Regions from separate parts of the Homo sapiens genome. Here region 2 is linked to region 1. The links are contacts of gene promoters, found by promoter capture Hi-C in blood cells and fetal thymus (Javierre and others, 2016). All regions are on one chromosome and are shown on one strand. Each heading gives the region's core, a stretch centred on a gene start or on the middle of the fragment in contact. The rest is flanking DNA. Distances are from core to core; before and after follow the strand shown. Region 1 overlaps LOC105373741 (a long non-coding RNA gene). Region 2 holds the start of ITGA6 (integrin subunit alpha 6).

Region 1 (6,668 bases), core at 1,262-3,761:
TTCTTCTTTTTCCTTTGTTTAAATGTGTTCTTGTGTAAGTCATGGGAAAGACAGGAGGGCTTGATTTGGCCTGTGTCCTCAGAAGTAGACCAGGCCTACCTCTGGATGTCATCATGCTGGCCAAATCTGAACTTGACTAGCAAATCATGAGAATGCAGTTAGTTCGGCCGGGCACGGTGGTTCACGCCTGTAATCCCAGCACTTTGGGAGGCCAAGGCGGGCGGATCATGAGGTCAGGAGATTGAGACCATCCTGACTAACAGGGTGAAACCCTGTCTCTACTAAAAATGCAAAAAATTAGCTGGGCGTGGTGGCGCACGCCTGTAGTCGAGCTACTCAGGAGGCTGAGGTAGGAGAATCACCTGAACCTGGGAGGTGGAGGTTGCAGTGAGCCGAGATCGCACCACTGCACTCCAGCCTGGGTGACAAAGTGAGACTCCGTCACACACACACACATACACAAAGAATGCAGTTAGTTCTTCAATGAGAACACATGGGCACAGGGAGGGGAACATCACACACTAGGGCCTGTACGGGGGTGGGGGGCAAGGGGAGGGAGAGCATTAGGACAAATACCTAATGCATGTAGGGCTTAAAACCTAGATGATGGGTTGATGGGTACAGCAAACCACCATGGCACATCTATACCTATGTAACAAATCTGTATGTTCTGCACATGTATCCCAGAACTTAAAGTAAAATAAATAAAAAAAGAATGCAGTTAGTTCTTCTTGATGCTGGAGACTATCACAATTTGTGGACCTCTGCTTGGCTTGAATGGTTAGCCAGGGAAGAATGTAGTTTAAATATTTTTGCATCATTATTTGTTATAAAAGTCATAGAAATGACTTTTCTAGAGATAGAAAAATACCATTATAGCGTAAGGGTGTTGAACTTAATGTGGAAACAAATCTACCTCCAGAATGTTATTTTCTAGCCTGTTTTTTCTTCTCCATTTTTTACCAGCATCTTAAACTTTTCATCTTTTTCCATTCTGGCCACACCCTGAATGAAAGTTTGCCCATTTCCTCTGCAATGTCTGCCCAAATCTTCCATCAACTCCTTTCCTTTTGCCCTATCAGAGTTTTCCAAGGGGTCCTGCAGCCAACAGACAATGCTCAGCTGGAGAGAATACAGGAAGCAGCTAACCACATTCTGCACCGACTGTCGTCCTTTGATCCTCTCTTTATATAGTGTGCTAAGGACATGTGGAATTAATTTTGCTTCTGAGGCTTCACTAATTGCCAACTGACACATTTGTTTCTAGAAAAAAGGTAAGTGTAGGCCAGGTGCAGTGGTGGATTAGGCTTAAAAATGTTTTTATTTTGCCACAAGAGGAAGCGCTGAGGGTGCTGCTTCCCCGCTGGAGCATCCAGGAATTTGAAGACTGTGCTCAAGGAGAAGAACTGACCCTTTGCTTTCTCTTTTGGGCCATGATGCTATGTCTGGGAAAGCAGAAACTCCAGTGATAAACTATTAGTGCTTGAAGGGAACTTTAAAAGCATTCATTGCAATCATTCTCTTTCACAGATGAAGTAAATGAAGCCTTGAAAGGTGAAATAACTTTCCCCAGGAGATTCCCAATTTTTAGCCCAGTGGTATTCCCAACACACTTTGGCATCTGTTGTAAACTTCAGAGGCCATTACTGGAATCTGCTGGGCATGGCCCCTTCTTATACAGCAATGAGGGAATCCATGGCATTATCTTTTCCCCTAGAGATTGAGAGAATGATTCATCTTTAAGTTTCAAAGAGACAGTGACATATTCCTAAAGCTTCATATATCCATGAGATAATGTCAAACATGTGAGTTGCTGAAACAGAAAATGCTCCCAGTGAGACAGCTGCTACAAGGAAAACCCTGCATACTTGCAGGCAGTGGAAACAATACTTTGGCTTAGACCAGGTGTGTGGGTTTTTTTTATTTGAAAGAAAAGAGAGTCTAAGAAGACAAGGATAATGCTTTAACACCCAGCATCATGAAGGAAAAAAAAAAAGCAACGTTGAGGCCACATTCAAGTCTCCACTCTCTGTTTTACCTGAAAAATTTCAAACCTGCAGGGAAATTGAAAGGATAATACAATTAGCACCTGTACATCCTTCATCTAGATTTACCAATTGTTGACATTTGAAAATTGCAAACATTGTGACGTTTCAATTTAGCGTGCATCTCTTGAGAGTAATGTCGTTCCCCTAACCACGACAGCATGATCACACCTAAGAAAATTAGCAATGATTCTGATGTATAATGTGTATTAAATTTCCTTTCAAATGCCTTTTTTATAACTTTTTTTCCCTCAATCTGAGATCCGATCAAATTCATGCATTATATTTGGTTGTTATGTCTTTGGTCTCATTTAATATAGAATAGTTGTCCTACCTTTTTTTTTCTTTTATGACATTGACTTGTTTGAAGAGATCAAGCTAGTTGTCTTGTGGAATGTACCATATTCTGTATTTGTCTGATTGGTTTCTCATGATTACCTTTGGGGAAACTTTTTTGGCGCAAACAGTACTTATGAAATTGTGTCTCTTTTTCTGTTACACCAGAAGGCACGTAGCATGTTACTGAGTGTGATCACTCAGTTGAGGTGTTTGCCATATCTCGCCACTCCTCCCTTTACAATTATCAAGTCCTTTGTGCAGTGATACTTTGAGTCCATGTGAATATATGGGTCCTCTACAGTTTTAGCATCCACTGCCTGAATTGATAATATCATAGGTTCCAAAATGGTCATTAAAAAAAGTTTATAATGCATATTTTTGAATCCACAGTCAGGAGTTATCTTTGAGTGACTATGGACACAGACTACCCCATATTATACACTCCATCTGTCCAGGACTAAGCTGAGAAGCAGGATGAGCAATCAGGAGACTGAGCAGTGGGCATGAAATCACAGCCCAGTGTGTGAATCGCTTCTTACTATAAGACTAAAATTTGAGGGCAGAACCTCCTTCAGTTTATTTATTCTGTATATCACCCCAACACCTCGTTACCACCCCCAACACCGTGTTACCCTCCATCCCTGTAACACCAAGCACAGTGTTTCACACAAAAGCCCAGAGGATGTTGTGAAATGAATGGAATTAGAGGAAAGAGAAGGTAGTGGTTTCACAAGTTTCCTGGAGGTCAAGGCAAAATCTGGTATTTGGCTCCGTCACGGGATCAACTTGTTTGTGCCTCTTTTTTTTGTGCTCTCTCCCTTTTGGAAACTCACTGTCCAGTCCTCATGCTGCATTCAACTCCATCTAAGCTTAGAGGGACTATGTTTCCAAACTCCAAATCAGGAAACAAAGCTTGATGGAATACTTGCAACCAGGAACCTACATTCCAGAATGATCTGTGCCCTTCTGTTTGCACTTGGATTTATACTATCCTCTTTCTGCATTTTGGCAGATTTTTCTCAGTCCAATTTGCCAGTTTACAGCTTTCCTTATAATGATTCGGTTACTCTTAAATACATCTAGGGAGATCCCTTAGACTCACCAGTAGACTTTCACATTATCTAACTGCATGGCTTGTTGATACTATTCTGAAGTCTGCTCATTTCTCCATTTCCTTCTTCCAATGTCTTTCTTGGAGTCCACTAGACCTGGGGTCCCCACGGTACTGGTCTGTGGCCTGTTAGGAACCGGGCTGCACAGCAGGAGTTGAGTGGCGGGCAAGCAAGCATTACCGCCTGAGCTCCGCCTCCTGTTAGATCAGCAGTGGCATTAGATTCTCATACAGCGCAAACCTTATTGTGAACTGCGCATGCGAGGGATCTAGGTTGCGCACTCCTCTTTTTTTTTCTTTCTTCTTCTTTTTTTCGTGTCAGATGGGTAATGTGCTAACGTCATAACAAGGTTCAAGGGTGGCAGATCTCACACATGCACGTGAATACCCAATCATCATGCTCAGGTTGCACAGTCCTTAGGAGAATCTAATGATAAATGTAGTGTGCTGAAATCATCCTGAAACCATCCCCGCCCCTCTCTGTTCTCCCTTGATCCGTGAAAAAATAGTCTTCCATGAAACTGGTCCCTGGTGCCAAAAAAGTTAGGGACCACTGCGATTCATCTATTACCCACAGCACAGGGCAGGTAAGTAGGAGGTAGGGAGGATTATGCCCATGGAGAGAGCCCTCATGTGCTGGGTGGTGCAAGAGAGGTCTCGGATTCTGATTCCAGTTCTGCCTCTACTCATTGGTGTGCGCTTTGACAAGTCAGTTCCCTTGTTCATCTTCATAGGAAACTCGGTAAAATAATTGTTTATACAGTCGGCCCTCCATCTCTGTGGGTTCCACATCCATGGCTTCCACCAGCTTAAACCAAATTTATCTTCACAAGGCTCCCCCTAGAAGAGAGGAAATTCCACAGCTTTGATGTGATGTGAAATGTGATCTCAAAATGATCATTTTCTAATATTATCATTCCTTTCACATTTATTAGTTGACATTTCTATCAGATCTCTCTTTTTCCCTCTTTCTTTTGAGTATCACCATGGACTGTGGATTTTTTTAGGCAATTCATTGTGTTATCATCCATTACTATCATTGTTCTTTTATTCTATTTGCTGCTCCAGTTCTTCCAAGTTAGGGTAGCAGGAGCTCTTTCAAGCTGGTTCCTGTAATTTTTTGACATGTCTTGGTTGGTCTTTGAGCACTTCATTGCTTTCTGGTCCAACAAAATGTCCCAGGCTCACTTTTTCTCCATTCCAGACCTGGAATGAGGATTTCATCAAAGGATTCTTAGGGGGACTGACATTTATAAACCATGGCTCAGGTGCTAGTGCATTGCTACTGGGGGACATTCACGTTAAAATAAAATCAACTTAACGATAAATTGTAGTTACATGTTTTTTCTGAGATATATAAATAATCAACTTCTCTGATCTCAGAATTAGATAAATCAGGAATGAATAACCAAGGTCAATAATAAGAATTCTCAAAGAAGCCCCAAGAATTTTTTTTTTAAAGAAGTGTCTGAGGGGCCGGGCATGGTGGCTTACACCTGTAATCCTAGCACTCTGGGGGGCTGAGGTGGGCAGATCACAAAATCAGGAGCTGGAGACCAGCCCGGCCAACATGGCGGAACCCCATTTCTACTAAAAATACAAAACCCCATTTCTACTAAAAATACAAAAATTAGCCGGGCATGGTGGCAGATGCCTGTAATCCCAGCTACTCAGGAGGCTGAGGCAGGAGAATTGCTTGAACCTGGGAGGCGGAGGTTGCAGTGAGCCGAGATTGTGCCATTGCCCTCCAGCCTGGGTGGCAAGAGCAAGACTTCATCTCAAAAAAAATAAAAAATAAAAAATAAAAGAAGTGTCTGAGGGACACTTTCTTAGGGCTGCTGTAACAAAAAGCCACAAATTGGGTGGCTTAAAATAACAGAATTTTATTATCTCACAGTTCTGGAGGCTAGAGTCCAAAATCAAGGTGTTAGCACCCTCTAAAACCTGCAGTGGAGAATCCTTCCTAGCCCCTTCTAGTTTCTGGTGTTTGCTGGCAATGCTTGGCATTCTCTGACTTGGAAATGCATCACTCTAATCTCTGCTGCCATTGTCACATGGCTGTCTTCTTCCTGTGTGTCTGTGTCCCTGTGCTTCTCCTCTCTTATGAGGATACCAGTCATATTATATTAAGGACTCAGCCTATTCCATTATGAACTCATTGTAAAGCATGATTACACCTGCACAGACCGTATTTCCAATAATGTCACTTTCACAGGTACTGGGGTCAGGATTTCAACATATTTCTTTAGGGGATAAAATCCAACCCATAATAGACACCATAATTCAGGAGTTAGACATTCGAGAAGAGTTTAACTGGAGTATGGAAACATGAATTTTGTAGAAAGTCTGTCCTTTAAATCCTGACAAATGCTCTCCTTATAATTCCAAATTGGATGAAAAAAAGTGTCATACATAAGAAATATTTACACTACTTATTGTAATCAGTTTTCTATACTGGTTAGATAAGGATAAAAGAGAAATAGAAGAGGTATGGAAGACACTGGGAGACATATTGAAAGGACAGCAGGAGATAAGAGATTTAGGGATGACTGAGAGAGGGAATAGAGGGGAATTTAGAAGAAGAAAACGGGGAGCAGGATGCCTGTCTGAAGAACAGAAAGATCATTATCTGTCACCCATTCAGCTAGATTCAAACTGTATGACCTCACGCTCCATTCTGGCTCTTTACCTAATACTACATTTTTGACTTGTACCTCTTTGATAATAAGGCTGAATATTATTTTGTTTTGCTCTGTGGCACAAATGGATGGGGACTGAGTGATGTGCATACCTTTTGGTGTGATTACTCCAGGCGAGGGGTATCTGAGGGCTGAGGGTCTGTGAGTAAGACAGGAATGGAGTAATGGGGACAGATTTGAGCTGGGTGAGGCCACTGTCTAGGTCATTAAGTCAAAGGGGTTCTCCTGAAACCGGAGGTGGGAGTGGCTTGAGGCACCAGTCCAAAGGCCAGTTGCCAAATTTGGTGATTATGGGGGAAGCAGAGCTTGTAGCCAGAGATGGATAAATAGCCCATAAATAACAGTATGGCAAGAGGATGGGCAGGTGTGTAGCTCCCTGTGGTCAGGAAAGGGGTATGCCCAGGACAGACAGACATGGGGAAGGCTCAACTGTGTGTCTTCCTTTGGGACCTCTCATCTGCCAAGCCCTGAAGC
Region 2 (7,266 bases), core at 4,021-6,520, 270 kb after region 1:
ATTGCACCACTGCACTCCAGCCTGGGCGACAGAGCGAGATTCACTCTAAAAAAAACAAATTGAGTCCTAAAGAAGTTGGGTAACTTGCTCCAGGCCCTCAGCCGGGAAGAAGGTGAGGCTAAGCTGCCTTCCATGAGTGTTTGCCTTAATCTCACCTGATACACTCCACAGATCACTGGCTTAAGTCCTAACTCAAAATCAGCCTTTCCCCCCACCCCACCAACACAGGAGATATTTTTATAGAAAGCAATGAATTTTTTTCTTTAAAGAACTTAATTTTAAAATGTCTACCCCATGTTTGGTCTTTCAAGAGTGCATTGCGTGTGGCATGAGATGTACATAGCTTCATGTTTGTTTCTAATGAAGGTGGGGATGGAAAACCAAATTTGTCAGGTGGGGATTTCACCCCAGCCTTATGACTCAGTTTTAGATTTAACTTGATTCATTTAAGGTTGGAGTTTATTTCTGGCTGGCAAAATATGGCTTCCTGGCTTAGAAAAATTCCCTCAAAACAAACTTGAAAAAAGTTTGCCCACCTAAAATGGCAACGTGAAACACTCTACATTTTAATGAGCTCATTGTAAGTGAATTAGAAACATTCAAATGCAATTTACTTCAAAATAGATCTAGGTGTTAAAATAAGGAACAGCTGGCAGTATGGAGTCTCCTGATCCCAACCAAAGGCAGGTTTGCCCCTATTAAATGGTCTGTGACTTAGAGCGAATAAAATGTCACTTTTTTTTTTAAACACAAAAGCATTAAGTTTCAGTGTCGAAGAGAAAACTCTGAACACTAATATAAAAAGACAAATAAAAAAACAGTATGGGAAAACTCTGTTTCTTTCTCTGGAACAAAAAATCTGCCATTGAATAGTAGAATCCCTAGTCAGAACAGTTTATTAAGTTTAGTTCACGAAACTATATTGTGGTCAATGCATAGCTCATAAAAGCCGTATCTTGAAAGACTGTACACAGGTGGGAGCTCTGGTTTTGATGCAACATTCTAAGTGCTTTAGATAACATCAACTCTACTAATTCTTAAGAGAAAGCAACTACTGAGGGGTAGATGACATGTTGTTATTTCCGGTTTACAGCTGGGAAAACGGAGACATGGAGAGATTAAATGGCCTTGTGGCTAGCGTGGAGCAGAGGCAGGATCCGTAATAAGGAACTTGGGTTCCAGAGACCATGTGCTACCCACTCTCATGGATGGCCTCACATTAAAGGGCTCCAGGAAATATGTAAAACTGTTGGGATAATGTAACCACAGAAAGAGAATAAAGAGATGTTTTCATTAACTAGTTTCTTGAGACGGAGTCTTGCTCTGTTGCCCAGGCTGGAGTGCAGTGGTGCAATCTCGGCTCAATGCAACCTCTGCCTCCCGGGTTCAAGCGATTCTCCTGCCTCAGCATCCTGAGTAGCTGAAATTACGGCACCTCCACCACGCCCGGCTCATTTTTGTATTTTTAGTAGAGATGGGGTTTCGCCAAGTTGGCCAGGCTGGTCTCGAACTCCTGACTTCAGGTGATCTGCCTGCCTCAGCCTCCAGAAGTGCTGGGATTACAGGCATGAGCCACCACGTCCGGCCTAATAACTAGTTTTTATGTTGCATGAAAAAAGCAAATATATTCTCTGCTGTTAGTGATGATGAAGTCAATATAACAGTGAACATGATAACAAAATGATTAAAGTAGGTCTCAGGGAATGGAAAATATATTAGGTATGACATGGATTCTTCAGACTTCTCCATAAATGACCAATATTCTAAAATTATCTTGAAAGCTCTTCTACAGAGGGTGGGATATAGTACAAATAAATAATTTTATTTTGAAAAGTGTACTGGTAAAACATAAGAATTCAAAAGCTCTCACCTGAGCAAATGCCTCTATGCATAGCTTTCACTGCCTTTTAATTAAAAATGTTCAGTTTATAGAAGTTTCTTCTGTGATGTGTTATTTCGTTTTCTAATCGGCCCTTTTTTTTTTTTTTTAGACACGGTTCTGCCAGTTAACTGGATTTGTAGGGCCCTTCTTGCACTGTGCATGTCTTGTTTTCATAGGCATGTGTGCTAGCACACACACACACATGCCCCATGCCCTATATACTCAGCACACCTTTATCACCAAGCTATCTCTCTCCCTTTGGTTCCAGACAAGTATCTTCCTGTCCCAGATTTTGTTTTCCCCATTAAAACTGTGTACTCCCTCCCCAGGTCTTTAATTTTTAGGGCTCTGAATTCTTTTATTCCTTTGGCCCCAGAGATTGATGTGTCCTCAGTGGATCCAGAATGACCTCTAAACCTCCTTTTTGTAAGACACTTTTGTAAAACACCCAACTCTGTTTTACAATGGAAATAACAACTGAGTCACAAAACTTGATTCTTTTTTTTTTTTGAGTCAGAGTCTTGCTCTGTCACCTAGTCTGGAGTGCAGTGGTGCAATCTTGGCTTACTGCAACCTCTGTCTCCCCATTTCAAGTGAGTCTTGAGCCTTGGCCTCCCGAGTAGCTGGGATTAGAGGTGCCCATCATTAGACCCAGCTAATTTTTGTATTTTTAGTAGAGACGGGGTGGTGGGGTTGGGTGGGGGGGAGTCTCACCATTTTGGCCAGGCTGGTCTCGAACCCTTGACCTCAGGTGATCCTCCCACCTCGCCTCCCAAAGTGCCAGGATTATAGGCGTGAGCCACTGTGCCTGGCCAAAACTTGATGGTTATAGTCAGAAGGAGCTGACAATCTTCAAATAAATTATGTCAAGAGTGAGGGTTTGACTCAACTTCAAGTATCTTCGGCATCTATGTTGAGAGTGAGAGTTTGACTCAACTTCAAGTAGGTAGGAGACAGGTGGCAGGTAGGAGCACTGAGCTAATAAGTTTTCCATTTGCGATGGGCACTTGACATATTCCAGAACAAGACTCCCAGCCTTGTTTTTCTTTATCTGAACCTCTTCCCACACAAGCATAATTTGCTTCAGTAGTGCTATACATGTAGTTGTGATATTTAAATTTAATATTATTTAGAATTTCAATTTGAGCACAATCTGTGTTTGGGATAAAGTAAATAACTCTGGCCATTCATACATCATCCACTAAACACATCTTGGGAAGACAGGAATCAATGGTCCACAGAATTACTCTTAGAAGCAAGGGGTGATATTCAGAATAGTTAACAGCTGGTGTGACATGGGGATATCCAAGCAGAGGGAGCCCTTGCTGCATCAGGGCTTAAGGGCTTAAACTTTCATTTGCCAGGTTGTGAGGAAGTTGCTTAGTCCTAGGAAAATGGGCAGGGCAGGGATGGTTGCCTGTGAGGAACTAAGGGCAGCAGCTTTTATCAACCAATTCAGAATATTTCAGTAACCATTACAGCCAAATCACCAGCTCCTGGCTGAGTACACTCTGCAGTGAGGTTCATTATACTATGCCTATAATAGTCTGGACCCCATCTCTCTGGAATAGTACATATTTTACACGAAGGGAAAAGGCTAACTTGCAACTTATTTGCATGAAAAATCACGTTGCAAGTACTTCTTAGTTTACTAGATTGTCTCCAATAGTTTCTCAACCTTATCAAGATATATTTGTTAAAACTGTGTGCTCTCCAAAATCATCTACTGAATTTAAACCACTGCACCCCACTTTGGACTATAATTGACTGGAGTTACTGATTGGAAAGGAAGTGGTACACACCCCTAATATACTGACGGACTTACTCTGACAGCTGCTACCACCTGTGGGGACCCTTGATGATGTTCACGCAGCTTTTCTGAGTGGCACATGCTGTTCTCTTGAATACTCCTTGAGGTGAAGAAGAGGCCACCCCTACCCCTATGCACACACAGCTCCTGCTCTTTCCTGGGGCTGCACCCTGCTTGTATTTCCAATGCAGGGATGTCAGATTCCAAAGAGGGCTCCCCAAGGCATTCCAGAAGGCTTCAGGCCAGCACGTCCCAACCTTTTCATGCCATGGGACCCCTTTGGCAGGCTGCTGAAAACCATGGGGTTCTTCTCAGAATAAGGGTTTTAAATACATAAAAGAAACCACAAGAGGTTACAAAAAAAGCCAATAATATTGAAATGTAGCTAACAAAATGTTTTTAAAAATTTGTGCTAGAGCAATATATATGCTTCATTATTGACATATAATATCTGGCTGATTGTCTAATAACTACTGTTATTTGAGATACTTGCAACAACTGTGATGTGATGTAAAAACCTATGGTTTCTAGTGATTACTAAGTCATAAATACTTATCCTACTGCTACTGTAGTTTGTTGTCTACGTTCATAATGGCAAAACGTGCTAAATGTCAGAGGTTGGTGAAAATTAAGACGTAAATTTTTTCTCATCCAAGTTCACAGTACTCTTGAATTAATTACCTCTCCTCGGGTTAAGAACCCCTGCAGGATAAGGTTGCCCCTAGGGCCAACACCTCACTGGAGCCCCGCCTCATGTCCTGGAGGCAGGAGCCTTCATGCCACCTACACAGAACTCGGAGCTGTCTCTTGGCCCAGCAGTTCTCCCCACAACTAGTTCTGAAAGTCCGGGGCTAGGAAAGAACGGCATCGTCGCCTGAGCTCCTGGCGCCACTTTAAACAACCCATCCTTGACTTGCGTGACTTCTTCCACAAGCTCTCCTGGTCACCTGGGCAAAATCCTAGGTGATCTGGGGACAAGGCGGAACTTCGGTTTTCTGATCTGCAAAAAGAAACACCTACCTCATAGGACTGTTAGGATGAATTGAGGTAATGGCTGGGTTGTGTACATTATACAGCACTATCAAGGTGTGCGCTGTGATCATTTTTGAGGGTTGTTAGGTGTTTGAGGACCCAGAACAGTCTACACAGCTGTAGTCCCCAAGTGTTGGGCACGCCTTAAGCGCTCCATAAACACCTGTAGAAATGAATGAATGACGTATGCATCTGCACGTGGGCCCACATCTGCAAGAACAGGCTGCTCAGGCCATGAGGCCCGGTGCATCACCTGCACTTCTCTTTATAACGGGTAGTAAAGTCTCCCTCGCTCTGTGCTACTCGGCAACCACAATTCTGTCCACAGAGGGCGGCGCAGTGGGGCTGCTTCGCCGCGAGCTCGCCTCCGGGGCTCCCACGTCGTGGCTTCCGGGCAGGTACCGGGCAGCTGGAGACGCCAGAGCCGGCGGGTAAGGTGCGGGCGGTGCGCCGGGCCGCGGGCGCGCAAGGAGGGGCGAGAGGGTGGGGAGGGGCGGGGCCGGCGTCCTCGTCACTTGATAAAACGCCTGCGAGTCTCCAGAGAACAACGGGCTCATTCAGCGGTCGCGAGCTGCCCGCGAGGGGGAGCGGCCGGACGGAGAGCGCGACCCGTCCCGGGGGTGGGGCCGGGCGCAGCGGCGAGAGGAGGCGAAGGTGGCTGCGGTAGCAGCAGCGCGGCAGCCTCGGACCCAGCCCGGAGCGCAGGGCGGCCGCTGCAGGTCCCCGCTCCCCTCCCCGTGCGTCCGCCCATGGCCGCCGCCGGGCAGCTGTGCTTGCTCTACCTGTCGGCGGGGCTCCTGTCCCGGCTCGGCGCAGCCTTCAACTTGGACACTCGGGAGGACAACGTGATCCGGAAATATGGAGACCCCGGGAGCCTCTTCGGCTTCTCGCTGGCCATGCACTGGCAACTGCAGCCCGAGGACAAGCGGCTGTGAGTTCCCAGACCCTTCCCACCCCCACTGGGGCGCCGGCCTGCGCGCGAGTTGAGGCGAGGGCGCGCCCTGTTCCCGCCGGCCCCGGGGAGTAGTTGGCCCGTGGGTCGCGCCCGGGCCGGCCGAGGCGCACCCAGCGCCCAGCGCGCTCGGCTCCCCGCCCTGACCCGCCCCGCGCGGCGCCTCCCTCCATTCAGCTCGGGAAGGAGGAGAACCCGAGGGCTAGGCTGGGCCCCGGGAGAGTTTACTTTTTTTTCTGTTTTAAACAAAGTGCTTTCCGCCGGTTCTTCCCTCCGGGCGTGTTTGCTGGGACCCCGGCAGGTGGCACGCTTTGCTGAGCTTCACGTGTGTGTTTGGGGCTGGGGTGGCGTTCAGGGTCACCGCAGCGCTGCTGTGGGTTTGCAGGGAGCGTAGTTCCAGGATGGTCTAGGCCTTTCCCAAACTCACGGTGCACCCCGTCTCCCCCGCAGACTGGCGCGCCCCGCACAAGTTGGAAAGCCACTTTCCATGTGTCCTGCATGACTTTCTCAGCAAGGCGGGGGCGCTCCTTAGGAGATACTTTTACATGCCTTTGAAAAAAAAAAAAAAAAAGATGGGGGTGGGGGCGGGAATTAACCAAACACCTGTTCGCTGGACTAGATCAGCTGAGAAAACAAGTCTGAGTGATGTGCCCAGCCCCCAAAGTACTCGGCCGCACCCGAGACCCGCTCGGCTCCTGCGTTGGGCGGGCACAGCCAAGGGGTTAAAGCAAAATGTCCGATCTGAGCCTGGACTTTGCAAACAAGGTTTGTAAGGGACAACCCCCCACCGTAGCGGTAAACCTCCCAGGAGAAAGAGGAGACCGGCACTACTGGCCTCTCCTTTTATTTCTTAAACAGTGTTTGGTTCCCACATGATCGGCTATTTAAGCCGGAGAGGGTATTTTGGCGCTTAGTCGCCTTAATCGCTATGGGGTTGCATTCTTCATCTGTGCTACTGAAAAATAGGCTGTAGCAACAAAAGGTCTCCCCTCCCCACCCAGGCCTTGAGTTGAACTAAGGACCTTCCAGGACCAACAGACCGGAGAAAGCAAAGTGCAGCCACAGTGAAGAGATTTTGTGTTTAGGAGAGGCGAATGGGATTTTAGAACTGGAGGAAACCTCTTGATTTCAGCGGTTAACAACTTTGGAATTCGTGAATGTTGCAGCCCCTGAATTTTAGTCAGTTTTTTTTTTTTTCTGATAACACCTGCTAGGTGAAGCACAGAAATTAGCTGGGGGTGGGGAGGCTCTAGGAGGGTGGTCTGAGGCTATATGCCTGGCCAGCTGCTTATACTCTGCTTTCTCTCAGAAATAATTGTTGTTAAGCTGTAAATCTGAAATGAAAGGTTCCTGTTAACTCAGTTAATAGATGACGTTTATTGTCTCGGAATACTTGGTGTGTAGAATTTGAGCTTGTTAGTGCAGAAATGATTGTGGGCCAGCAGAGGGAATTCATTCTCCTGGGCATTCTCTCTCTGCACCAGAGCCCCACTGAAACCGGTGGCTTCCTTGAAATACTTGTTCAAGCAAAAAGTGTGAAGGGAAAGTACTGGGACAAGAAATATCCTGGCAGTGGAGATTTGCGAAACG

Evidence for each region. Contacts are between HindIII fragments. The CHiCAGO score rates a contact against its expected background, and 5 or more counts as called.
Region 2: the fragment with the promoter of ITGA6 here is called in contact with a fragment that was not itself captured in region 1 in 14 of 17 cell types (megakaryocytes, naive CD4 T cells, non-activated CD4 T cells and 11 more); the score reaches 13.5 in megakaryocytes.

Annotation. Positions count from the first base shown.
Region 1 is chr2:172,152,218-172,158,885 of GRCh38, forward strand. It overlaps LOC105373741 (a long non-coding RNA gene), which reads left to right. Exons shown (of 3, transcript XR_923580.2): 3 at 1,083-1,274. It also overlaps the pseudogene LOC124906157. Among named protein-coding and RNA genes, the nearest start is that of DLX2-DT, 53 kb to the left of the region's middle. The HindIII fragment of the contact is 1,479 bases long and covers 1,773-3,251 here.
Region 2 is chr2:172,422,316-172,429,581 of GRCh38, forward strand. ITGA6 (integrin subunit alpha 6) reads left to right here and starts at 5,271. Exons shown (of 26, transcript NM_000210.4): 1 at 5,271-5,655. The coding sequence starts at 5,474. RefSeq lists a silencer at 5,219-5,298 and an enhancer at 6,083-6,583. The HindIII fragment of the contact is 11,901 bases long and covers 1-7,266 here.